Regions from separate parts of the Homo sapiens genome. Here regions 2 and 3 are each linked to region 1. The links are contacts of gene promoters, found by promoter capture Hi-C in human tissues and cell types (Jung and others, 2019). All regions are on one chromosome and are shown on one strand. Each heading gives the region's core, a stretch centred on a gene start or on the middle of the fragment in contact. The rest is flanking DNA. Distances are from core to core; before and after follow the strand shown. Region 1 holds the start of HS3ST1 (heparan sulfate-glucosamine 3-sulfotransferase 1). Region 2 overlaps LOC105374492 (a long non-coding RNA gene). Region 3 has its middle 60 kb from the start of WDR1.

The links. The method cuts DNA at HindIII sites, captures the fragments that hold promoters and counts their contacts. A contact is called where the count stands out against the background at its distance.
Region 2: a contact is called between a fragment that was not itself captured here and the fragment with the promoter of HS3ST1 in region 1, in 1 of the 25 tissues and cell types used here (dorsolateral prefrontal cortex).
Region 3: a fragment that was not itself captured here is called in contact with the fragment with the promoter of HS3ST1 in region 1 in 1 of the 25 tissues and cell types used here (neural progenitor cells).

The regions. Positions count from the first base shown.
Region 1 is chr4:11,426,333-11,430,371 of GRCh38, forward strand. It overlaps HS3ST1 (heparan sulfate-glucosamine 3-sulfotransferase 1), which reads right to left and starts at 2,562. Exons shown (of 2, transcript NM_005114.4): 1 at 2,367-2,562. RefSeq lists an enhancer at 2,218-2,437 and a silencer at 2,528-2,707. The HindIII fragment of the contact is 7,575 bases long and covers 1-4,039 here.
Region 2 is chr4:12,610,423-12,614,700 of GRCh38, forward strand. The region is part of intron 1 of LOC105374492 (a long non-coding RNA gene); the gene reads right to left. Among named protein-coding and RNA genes, the nearest start is that of LINC02270, 390 kb to the left of the region's middle. The HindIII fragment of the contact is 3,387 bases long and covers 1-3,275 here.
Region 3 is chr4:10,174,983-10,179,045 of GRCh38, forward strand. No RefSeq gene overlaps it. Among named protein-coding and RNA genes, the nearest start is that of WDR1, 60 kb to the left of the region's middle. The HindIII fragment of the contact is 3,621 bases long and covers 1-3,533 here.

The sequences.
Region 1 (4,039 bases), core at 1,312-3,811:
GAAGCTTCCATGTGGCTTTTCCCTTCAGAGGCCCCCCCCCCAACCCTCACAAGATTTTTCCAGTAAAATAATTTCTTATTTTAATAAGAAAAGTACATGCTCCAACTTTTAGGGGGACCCAGGGGGGGGGCTTGAGGCTTCATTCTAGACATAACCACAGGAAAGTAAAGAACCCTTTGCTTTTTCCGATGCCATCTCAAGATGCCAATTTCTCACCAGCTTCTCAGAACAAAAATCTCCTATCTTAAAACTACAGAGCATTGTATACCCTGTGGCATCACAGAGGATCCACAGTCTAGAAGCACAGCTTAATAAGCCTCACTAAGGAATCTTCATCTATGCTGCTGTTGTAATTAACTGCTTCCACTTAAGAGTGCTTAGTCATGAAGTTGTCCATCCCTGTCAAACTCAGCTGAAAGAGTTAGATGGGCTAACCAAAACCTGGAAAGACTCTTTTAGAAGCTGTTCTTTCTCTGCTTAGCGCTGGAGAAAACCTTATGTAACACAATGGTCCATTTCAATATGTTATTTCTGCAATCCTGTGGGGGAAAATCTAAGCGCTGGATGTACAACGGGAAGGGTAAGGCAGGGATTTGCAGCGGAGCGCGCGTCTCCTGGAATTTCAGTAGGTAAGGCTTATTCTAATTGCACCCAGTGTTACCCAATATTACCAGGAATGCAGAAAGCAAGAAAAAAATCCGAACGTCAAAGGATGCGCTTTGCTTTAGAAATGCAGGGAGGCAGAAGTTGGGTTATTTCTCCCTCCTTTTTTTTTCTTTTTTTTTTAAAGATGGAATTCCTGGAATTAACCCTTGGGTGGAAGCATTTCAACAAAATAAAATGAGATTTGCCTGCAAAGCGAGAACGCACGGGTGGGAATGAAGGATCCTGCCTGTGCCAGGCTGCTGCCTCAGCAGTGTCCAAGCACCCAGCGCCTGAAAGCGGGAGCGTGGGGACTCGTCTGGGGACCCTCTTCCGGGGCTACTGGCGGGAGGCGCAGCCGAGCTGGTGGTGGCGGGGTTTCCCTCCGGGGCTAGGGCTGAGGGAGGAGAAGAGGGCGGACTGGCTCCTTCCGTTCTCGGCCACCCTCCCCGCCACTCCTTGAGGCTGCTCCATGCTAACAGGAGACTGTTTCTCGGAGCGCAGCGCAAAGACAGTGGATTTGGAGTGGCCTCCCTAGAATCCCCCCAAAAGCATCTTGGCACAAGTTGTAGATAAAAATAGCTCATGATAACATTGTGGGAAAGGGAGGAGCGAGACTCGCGCAAGGCGAGGCAAGGGTACCACTGGATCTGCAAAGGAGGAGGAAGAGGGAGGATGCAACCCTTGGCCCAAGAGAGCGCCCTGAGTGTGCGAGGAATCGCTGGCTCCCAGGGGAGGGAAAGAGATGGAAGACCTATAGCGCCTATAACTGCAGAGTTATAGACCTATAACTGCAGAGCCCAGCACACCCCATCCCGCGCCGGCACCCGGCTTTGGCTCCAGCTTCTTCTTCCCATCATCCGCCTACGTTCTGGGTCTGTCCTCCGCTTCCTGGGACAGGCTGGGGCTAGAAGGAGGAGCAGCGCGCCGTCCGCCCCCTGGCTGGTAGAGCGCACCTGGAGAGGTCAAGCTCCGCGAATAAGACCCTTCCTGGGAGCTGGGGTCTAGGCGTTCCAACCGCGGGTTCGCACCCCGCCATCCCTCACCTCCATCCGCTGCCACTACCCAAGGGCCCGGAAATAGAAAACCACGAAGGGGGAAAAAAATCAGTAAAAAGTAACAAGAAAAAAATCAAGACCCTCATGTAATTGGCATTAGGGATGAGAGGTTTATTGTCAGGGCTGTCACCTCAATCTCTCTCTTTGGGAGATGCCTATCTCCAACCAAATGCAAAGGCAAACCCGACCAAGGCTTCTCCACCCCCAAAGGCTCCCTCAGCCGAGTTACTTTTGCGGGCTGTGTCCTCGCCCCAGTTTCTGGCCCCAGGTGGTACCCAGGATCCGTTGAGTGCTGCGCTCTCGCTGCCCTACAGGGTCCTATGGTGAAGCTGCGGTCGCGAAGCGGCCGGCAGGAGCGAACCTCACGACTCTGCAGGGGGGGAAAACATCCAACCCAGTAAGAGTCAGAAATCTGGGTCCCTGTCCTTACAGATCAACCGGTCCCTCGGGACTTCCAGAGCAGAGGTGCTAGGGCAGGAGGTGAGGAGGATGGGAAAATCCCCAGCCTTTGCTTCCTGGTTCCCTCTGCATCCACTCCACCTGCTCCAGCCTCGATTCTTCTTAGGTTCTGCACTTGCCCGAAGTCCAGAACGCCAGACAAAGGCACCTCGGAGCCCTCTACACCTGCGTCCTGCCACTCTCCCACCCCGCGCGCGCCGCACTCACCTGAGCCGCGCCTCTGTCCAGCCCGTCCGGCGCCCTAAATAGGCTCCTAGGCTGGGCCATGGGCAGCACTGCCGAGCACCCGCGGCGGGTAGAGCAAGTTTCTGGATGGCCCGGGGCAGGCGGGCGGGGAGAAGGCGCAGGCACCCACTGAGACCCGGCTGTCGTGGCGGCGACTCCTGGCTGCCAGGGCGCAGAGGACCTTGCAGGCGGGCGTTTTGGTGCTCAATCCCGAGGAGGGGGAGGAGCGGGAGGAGGAGCGGGAGCAAAAGGAGGGGACGGAGGAGGCCGGGCCCGGAGGGAGAGCGCGTTGGGCAGAGGAGGATCGCGAGCGCCCACTGCTGCCCGGCCCGCTCGGGTGCCGCCCAGAGTCCGGCCCGCTAGGTGCCTGGTGCTCCGCTCTGCGCTCAGCTGCTCCGCACAGCCCCGCCTGGCACGCAGCTCCAGCGGCTGGTCGGGTAGTAGTCGGTCCCGCCCACCCGGTGCGGTGGCCCCTGGGGTTTCAGTCCAAGGGGAGGGACCAGCGCTCCAAGAAGGTGAGGCTGCTGGGATGGGTGACTCCGCCGTCACTGCAAACACGGGACGTCCCGTCTACTCCCTTACGCCTGCTTGGTCTGAGCCCGAGTCTACCTCTTCTCTAAGTCGCCAGCTCGGCACTTGTACCCGGGACCTGTGCTCCTCCCACGTGAGTCTGCACCATGCGTATTCCCTTCCTGGCAGGTGACCCACCTTAGGCGCTGGCGCTCCTTCCGCCCCCCGGGAAGCAGGAGGTGCCATCCTCTCCAATTCGCTCTGCAGCCGGACTGGGACCGGAGCGGCGGCCTGGGCCAGAATCCGCGTGAGGAGCCGGCTTCAAAGAGCGCCCTGTCGCCATTGAACACTCCTTTTCCTTTGGTTTAGCGTCGGAGAGCGGACGCCAATTTGCCAGGAGAGCGCGGAAAATTCAGCTTTTTTTTTTTTTTTTTTTTTTTTTTTTTTCCGCTAGTGCACTAGGATTGCAAACGTCAGCTCTGAAATAAAAAGCAGGATATTTCTGCCCCGCTCCTCTATTCCGGAAGCTGGGAGGTTCTGTGGGAGAAAGGACCTGCACCCAATAACTCAATTTAAGATTTAAGGTTTTGAGGGGCGTGGGGTTGGAATCGCCTTGGAGAAACGGGTTTGCCTGCTTACCTGAGCCAAAGGAAGTTGCCCTCAAAGGCAGGTCAGCAATCATACCCCGCCAAAAGCAAATGCACATCAAAGTAACTTCCTTTAAATGAGATTACTGTAGTTTCCATGTCTTCCACATTAGTAAATAAATATTTGGAAGACTTCGAATTTGTGATTTACGTTTAAATATATTTCACCAACATTGTTTAATTAAAAAAAAATCCCATCTAAGAGAAGGTTCCTATAGGAAATTGGCCCTTTAACTCATACACAGATTACCCTCGGCACTTTCAGAAAACAACACAGTGACCAGTATATTCTGTCTTTTTGATACAGCCAGAAGCACCCTGAAAGCTGAGACCTAACTGTGCTTTTGGAAAATAAGCTTTTAGGAGTTGAATGACCTTGTCTACTTCTTTTAGTCAGAATAATGTTGGCATGTCTATTTTAGGTTAAAAAAAAATACAAATTCTAAAAAGTGACTTTAAAGGCCCACTTTGAAAGCCTTAGCATTTAAACTAACATTA
Region 2 (4,278 bases), core at 332-2,831, 1.2 Mb after region 1:
GAGGAAATCTCCCCGTACCTGCATGCTAAAAGAATCTAAACAGACTCTTCTAAAGTCCTCTTTCATGCAGCTAATAAGACAAATAGTACTTTTAAATATTAATTCAGAATAAAAAATAATTGAAAATATCAATAAACATTCAGTGTTTTGAAAATTAAGCTTGAGTACGCCTTCCTGTAGGCATCCTTCTCCGATCATGCCCCACACCCATATGAAATGGACGAAAGGCTTCTCCTGATGGTGTGTATCTATGAGAGCATTCTCTGCTTATTTTTTTTATAAAAACTGATACACTGTAATTTAATTATTGCTTTTATTTCTGTTTTGTTCTCTTATTTGAATGTGTATTATAAATATGTGGTTCAGCTTGTGATGTATAATAGGCACTTAATAAATTGTTAAAAGAATGAATGAATTCACAAAGCACTTGCACACACCTTTTCCCATTTAATGAGTACAATTATCCTGCCGAGTGAAAGCACAGAAAATTGTATTCGTACCCCACTTTTATGGAAGGGAGGGAGCACAAAAACTCAGGAGCATGAATTACAAAGATTACAAATCAAGACAATGGCAGAAGGAGTGCCTCAAGTTCTGCTGTCTCAAGCTGCCTTGACTGCACATAGGAGGACTGTGAGTTTCAGGTCTAGTGCCCGCGTCTCCTCGGACTGTAAACGATGTCAGGCACCTGGGCATTCCTAGTCTTGTGGCTTTGAAAAAAAATTGCTAGACCCTTTCTCAACATTATCTATCTGAAGTAAGTGAGTAAGTACAGGTGAAGGTGTGATAGAAAATGAAATCCCTAAATAAGATAACATGTCAGCCATTTATAATCCATGCAGAATGGTAGGGCCAAAAGAGCCATGCGTTCATTTTTTCAGGGGGAGTCTATTGGGAGGATAATGATCTCGTTTCCACTCCTAATACCCAACCTTCCCTAGCAATTTACTCTCCACATTGTAGCCAAATGACCTTTCCAAAAGGCAAATCTGGTGTTCCCTAACTTAAAATCTTTCAAGGGCTCCTGGTATTGCAAACCTTTAGTTTTGTCACATGATCCTATGATGGGGTCCCTGTTCAGTTCTCCAGCCTCATCAGGACCCAATCTCCCTACTGTGTACACGCTTGTATCATTGATCTTTTACACTTACTCAAAACAAATATGTAATGAACAGTAGATAAATATACACACATATATGCATATTTCCTATGCATTGTGCATAGTGTATGAGCAAATGTTAGGTCTTTTGCAAAATGAAATAGCTTACATGAGACATTATTATAGCCATTTAAAATAGCGCCCCAAATGTAAATTAGTTTAACCATTGTGGAAGGCAGTGTGACAATTCCTCAAAGTCCTAGAACCAGAAATACCATTTGAGCCAGCAATCTTATTACTGGGCATATACCCAAAGAATATAAATCATTCTATTTTAAAGATACATGCACGTGTATATTTACTGCAGCACTATTCACAATAGCAAGACATGCAATCAACCCAAATGCCCATCAATGATAGACTGGATAAAGAAAATGTGGTACATATACACCATGGTATACTATGCAGCCATAAAAAGGAACGAGATCATGTCCTTTGAAGGGACATGCATGGAGTTGGAAGCCATTATCCTCAGCAAACTAACACAGGAACAGAAAACTAAACATCGTATGTTCTCATTTATAAGTGGGAACTGAACAATGAGACCACATGGACACAAAGAGGGGAACAACACACACTAGGCCCTGGGGTGTGGGGGGAGAGTAGCAGGATAAATAGATAACATGTGTGGGGCTTAATACTTAGGTGATGGGTTGACAGGTGTAGCAAATTACCATGGCACATGTTTACCTATGTAACAAACTTGCACATCCTGCACATGTATCCCAGAACTTAAATTAAATTTAAAAAATAAGACAGTACCCACATATTCAATTATTTTCTTATTTAGGAAACATCTATTGAGATCTATAGCTATAATTATACTTATATCTATTTCTTACTTGGGAAAGCCTGCCTGACTTCTTAGAGTAATATAAATCTCTCTGTTCTAGTCTACTAGAGGACTCTAGGACTTCATAGTTCTTCTTTCATAAGACTTGTCAACCTTTTTCAATGTCTACCTCCACAATAGACCGTAAGTTCTGTGAGGCCAGAGAAACTGTTCACCTTATTTATCACTACTCAGAATTTAGTAGAGTTCCTGTCACATAGCAAGTGCCCAATAAATGTCTATTGGAGAAATAAATGATGAAGAGATGTATGAATGTAACCTGCTGGGCTTGGGTCGAGTGAGGGAGATAGACAACAGAAATACAGCGTGATTAGTGTGATCAATGTTGTGAAACAGGATGGACAGCTATGGCTTTGTCTTTGAAGCATTCAATTATTTTTCTCTTACTTGCTTGAAGAATCAGACTTTCCTCTCTACTTTTGGCACCACTGGTTCAGGTAGCCTGACCCCAAAGCTTTGTCCTCAGGATGTGCGTATGCTGAACAAGATATTTAAATTTACTTCTGGGACTTTGATAGGAACTAATAGGCAAGTGAGAGTTTCTTCCCTCTAGAGTTGTCTGGTGGTAGAATGTAAGCCTAGATCTGCAGGGAGCTATCTTTCGACCACACACGGAGAGTCCACCTAAGAATGAAATCAATATCCGTGAAGGAAGAATTGAGCTAGCAAAACAGAGATCAAATTTCAAAGACACTGCAGGAACATTTCTGTGAGGTCAGGCCTAAATTTAGTCAGCCTCTTGACTTTGTATTTTAATTAAATAGTCCACTTTAACTGAAATTAAATTTAACTTCAGTTAGTTTGGATTGAATTTTTGTAAGCTGCAATGAAAAATGTTTGAACTCATTTATCAAGGCAAGCACAGGAGGCAACAGAGAACTCCATTGCCTACAGGTGGGAGAGAGGGCTGTCACGTAGCAAGTGCCCAATGAATGTCTATTGGAGAAATAGTCTACATTGGGGAGGTTTTATTTTCTGAAAGTATTAACAACTCTAGTTTGGGTTAAGCTACACATAAATCTTAGCCCAAACTAGAATTTTTAATATTTGCAGACAATTCACTTGAGCCGAACACTAATCATTTTGTGGACACCCATGCCTTTGATAGAGGGTATGAGCCATACAGAAATATATGACTTTATCTCCTAGAGCTAAAATATACCTGAGGCCCATACACATATTTATTCTGCATTTTTTTTCCTTTTTCACTTCCCAATTATCTAGGGCTTAGAGGGAAACATAATAAAGGTATGCACCTAACAGAATAGTGGAAAAACACCAGATTTGTAACCTACTCTGGTTATACCAGGTACAACTAGTATTAAAATATCATCGGTAAATTTATTAGTTTCTCTCAGTTTTGCAGACTCCCCACTTCCTTATCTGTAAGACTAGGACAGCAATACCTACTTCAAATGAATGGGATAAAATACAACAAATGTCTAGCACAGATCTCGGTAATAACAATAAGCACTTAAGAAACTTTAGTTTAGTTAGCTAAAATGTTCCCCTAGAGAATACTGGATCCTGAATTTTTGCTGGGAAAAAATTACATTATTTCTCTAACTTAAGCATAATGCCTAATACATTGTGGACACTCAGCATTTGTGGAGAAAATAGAAGTTTCTAAAAAGACAAGCATAGGCTCACTGGACCCAGTTTGTTTCCAGTCCATTGCAGTGAATTCTGCATTCACCACTTCACATATATTATGGGAACATCTCACCACAAATTCCAGTAGATGTGTTTTAGTTTTTATCACTATCCAGCATTAAATTCTGTGGGTCTTCTCTCTCTTTCTTTCTTTCTTTCCTTCTTTCTTTCTTTCTTTTTCTTTCTCTTTCCTCTCTTCTTTCTTTCTTTTTCTTTCTCTTTCTCTTTCCCTTCCTTTTCTTTTCTTTTCTTTCTTTCTTTCTTTCTTTCTTTCTTTCTTTCTTTCTTTCTTTCTTTCTTTCCTTCTTTCTTTCCTTCCTTTCCTTCCTTCCTTTCCTTTCTTTCCTTCCTTTCCTTTCCTTCTTTTCTTTCTTCTTTTTGTTCTTTGTTTCCCCTCTAGTGCCTCATCACTTGCACAAGCTTTCATTCCATTCATCTTTTACATTTTCACTATAATGATATATTATATTCCATTGCATCTTTGCTTAAAGCCTTTAAGTATTATTGTTGCAGGAAAGGGGTCTCAATCCAGGCCCTAAGAGAGGGTTCTTGGATCTTGCACAATAAAGAATTTAGGGAGAGTCCATAAAGTGAAAGCAAGTTTATTAGGAAA
Region 3 (4,063 bases), core at 473-2,972, 1.3 Mb before region 1:
CTTAAACTGAAGTGTAGTAAAGTTATGTGCTTTTTGTGGGAGAAGTCCTAGGCCTCTCGCTTAGTGGTGTCCAGGTAGCTACTTAACCCCAAAGAACAATCTATACAATAAGACCTAGACTGGAAACACAAAGTTCTCTGTGAATCTCGTCTGAGATGGGTAATGTGGTGTGAGACCTTATGGCTGACAGGTGTCATAGCCACAGCTGGTTAGTGTCAGTTACTATAGACCCAGAGGTGCGTCTGTGCTTGTGAAATACTTGGAGGGAATTAGTATGTTATTGGCTTCTTTGGTTCCCTTATGCCTTTATGTCATGTCCCTTAATGGAAGAATTTGTACAGCTTTTCCTGTATTAAAAATAAAGAACTGGTATCATAACCTCTCCACACTTAAGGCCCTTCAGGGACTAAGACTTAGGCCTGACCTCAGCTCAGTGGCTGAGCTCATGGATCCCAGCCATGTTGAGCTGCAGAGCTAATCATACAATGCTAGAAGCACACTTGAAGGTGATGCGCCATCACCAGGTGGCTGGGTCCCAAGAGTCATCTTTTGCTGAGAAGCATGTGATGGGAACCTCTGGGCTCTGGGGTGTCTTCTGGGGCAAGCAAGCATTGGGGCAGGAGGTACAATAGTGCCTGAGCTACCCTTTGTACCTTCCTCTGCTCTGAGGATCCTAGACAACTTTGATCCATGTCAATGTCTTACTCGGCTTTTCAGACAACTGTGACCTTGGATTGCCCACTTGGCTATCTGTTATAAGTAAAACTTCCAGTTTGTTCTTTCACTCAATGTTTTGAAATCATTCATAAACTTCTCGGCTGTCATAAGGCCTCAGGAATCATTGGTATGAAGAATCTGGTTAGAGGGTATCGGAAGATACAATGACATAGCCATCAGAATGGAACCTTTAAGTCTGAATTCTTGGCCCTTAGAGCTTGGGCTATAATGTAGCCAGAGATCCATCTCATCCAAAACCAGACTGAAACACACGTTTCCGTATACCACTGTGTCTGAGTGATGCACGTAGGATCGTTTTCTGCTGGGATACGCACTGAACTGACAGCCTTGGTGAACATGAGGGAGATGGATGGACCCCAGTCTCTGCACCTAGTAGACCTTTGGTAGTTTACCCTGTTTCATGAAATGTGTGGCTCAAGTCTAGTTCTTTCACTGCGCACTGACACTGCCAGAAAAGGCCTTGGAACTTTCTGCAGTGGTTGTGTTGTTCATACTGCCTTGTGTGCAGGGGAGACTTAAGATAGAGGAAGGCTGCTCCCCTGACTAAAATGAGGTGCATTCTCAGAGGGGGCACCTGAATTTCCACTGGATGTGGGAAGCATTCCTCACCCAAGTCATACTACTTTAGATCCTGGATCTGAGTCATCCAGGACCCAACACTTGAGGTCTGGCCCCAGTGGAAAGTGATGGGAAGGTTGGTCCTCCAATCACAGCTTGCAAGATGTCCCTATGTGATCACTGTACCAGTGTCCATAGTAGGAGATGTTAACACCCAAACTCATTGTTGCTTATAAAGGTCTGTATATAGACACTAAGGTAAATGCGTAGCAAAAGGGCCAGGTGTTAGGGAACAGGTAGAAGGTGGACCAGTTCTCAGCTCCAGAAAACAAGCTTCAACAGTCATAGTGAGGCATCTGCATGCTTCAACCTGAATCTGAAATACTTAACACACTACCTATGCTCCCAGAATCCTCCAAAGTCCTCAAATTACATGTATATCTGATATCCACCTATCAACTAGATCAGAAACTTTTAATTGGATGCTCCTGTGTAATTTTTCATTGGGGGCTGTCCTGTGCACTGTAGGACTTTAAGCAGCACAATTTACCTTTTCTGCTAGGTGCCCATAGCAATTCCCTTCAACCCCTGAAGGGCTGTGATCAACATCTAGACACTTCTCCCTGGAAAGCAGAATTGACCACTTGAATACCTAACTAGGTTTCAAGAAACCATCAGCTGTCTTGGGGGTAGTTCTCTCATGGCACCTTCATGTGTGGAGTACTAGATGCCTGTGTGTTTTCTCCATGATCTTTGAAAGGTTGGAGAACAGACAATCTGAAGCTGAGCAATGCCTTCACAGAGGTGAACTCTCCCAGAAAAAATCCCTTCAAGGTAGCCCCTAGGGCCTGGGATTTAATTGTTCTCCTTTCCACGTTGAAGAATCCTCTTCACCACCGAGTCTTGGGATGCAATTGGCAGGTCCATACCCTTATGTCTTCACTGTGCGTGTCTTGGCATGGGCTTCTTACTGCTCAAGAGTCTGAATTGGACCATTCCCATAGGCCCCTCCACATATGAGTGTTCCAGATCTCTTCTATGTAATCATCTTCCGGGGTCTGACCAGTCAGTCCATTTTCCAATATATGGGACCAATTATCCTCAAATCCCTTATCCCGTAAGAGATGATCAAGTTTATTGATTGAACTTCTGCCAAATGAGAGGATTTTTTCCCCAATGACGACTTAGGGTGCCCTCAGAGAAGCTTTAGTGTCACAACAGTTTATACTCGGCTATCACATATTGAGTCAATCATCCATAAACCAGAACTTTACCCTTTGCCAGTTGGTCATAGAGATCTCCCCTTGAGGCTACAGGTATGAGCTGACAGATGCAGGTACTACAGAGCTTGAGGATGATGGGAGTCTGAGCCACCTAGTTTTGTGATTTAAATGTAGTTCTATGTTTATTTCCCTCACAACCTTGTTGTGCCCATGGAGCTTCTGCCTCTATGGGTCTCACAACACCCAGATCAGGCTAGGAAGTTCTAAAAGTTACTAGCTGTCTCATGGCCAAGAGCTCAGTCTCCAAGGCTCAGTAACATGGTTGAAGCTGACCTGAAGGGTAATCAGCCTTCTACTGGCAGACTTAGGCTAGAATCTTAATGGTCTGTAGTATTTTTACTAAAGTATCCCCCAGATGCCTCCCATGACCACCTCCTACCATGGATCTAATATGAGAGGCAAGGCAACATTTTAGAAGGCCAAGATTAGCTGCAGGGCCCTCATCTGATGAGGCCTCTTCAAAACTTATACCTGTTGGAGCCCACTAAAAATGGCTTACAGTAGTTAAGTGTGATACGCTGTATCAAATTCACAAACTCCTATTTTGAAAGTACACTGTTTATGGTAGGAGATAATCCAAGGAACTGTCCTTGAATTTGAAAGTTGGAAGTGATGTCCCTGCATGCCCTAGATACTTAAGCATTGTGGATAGACCCCTGAGTCTTGGTAGGCTTTCCCCTCCCTCTGGCACTTGGGTATGCTCCAGAGCACTGGCTGCTTCCTGATGGGTCTGACTTATGCCAATAATAAAGTGGCCCAGCGAGATCTCCTGTGAGATGCCAGCAAAACCAAGACTTCAGCCTATGACATTAGGACAGACCAGTAGAGTTAATACCGCCTGAGGACAAGACAATGTGTATTCCTGGCCTTACCATGAATAAGCCAAACTGAACTTGGAACCTCAATGAGGAGGATTTGAAAGAATGGATTTTCCAGAATGGCGGTAAGCCTCCACTCAATGTCAGAAGTGGTGGTTACTAGCAAAGATACCATAATGTTGCATGATGGCTATGCTAAATCAAATATATGGTAGTTCACTGTCATGTGACATGGAACTCCAAAAGATGAAAACCACAAGAATCTAGTCAAATGCAGAATGACATCCTTTCCATATGTGGCAGACAAGTGAACAGGTGCTGAAAAGGTTCCCTGTTGAGTTACCTTGAACCAGTGGTCAAAGTGAGGTTTTCTGTGCTGGAAAACCTTCGTAGCCTCGTGTCCAATTCAAAACACTTGTGTTTTGAGGATGAAACTAGGACCATTCTAACTTTTCAGAAAACATGGGCCCTTGAAGCAGCAGTTTCCATACTTTGGGGACAGATTCTTTATTGGCGTAGGTACATTACTGACCTAAAAATCCAGATTTCTCTAGGAGAACTGGGGTCCTAGTCCAGGATGCTGGCTACATGGACGGGCAAGGAGTGACCACTAGCTTGTCCTTAACCATTGCCCAGGCATGGGAGATCCCAGCAGCAACCATGCCG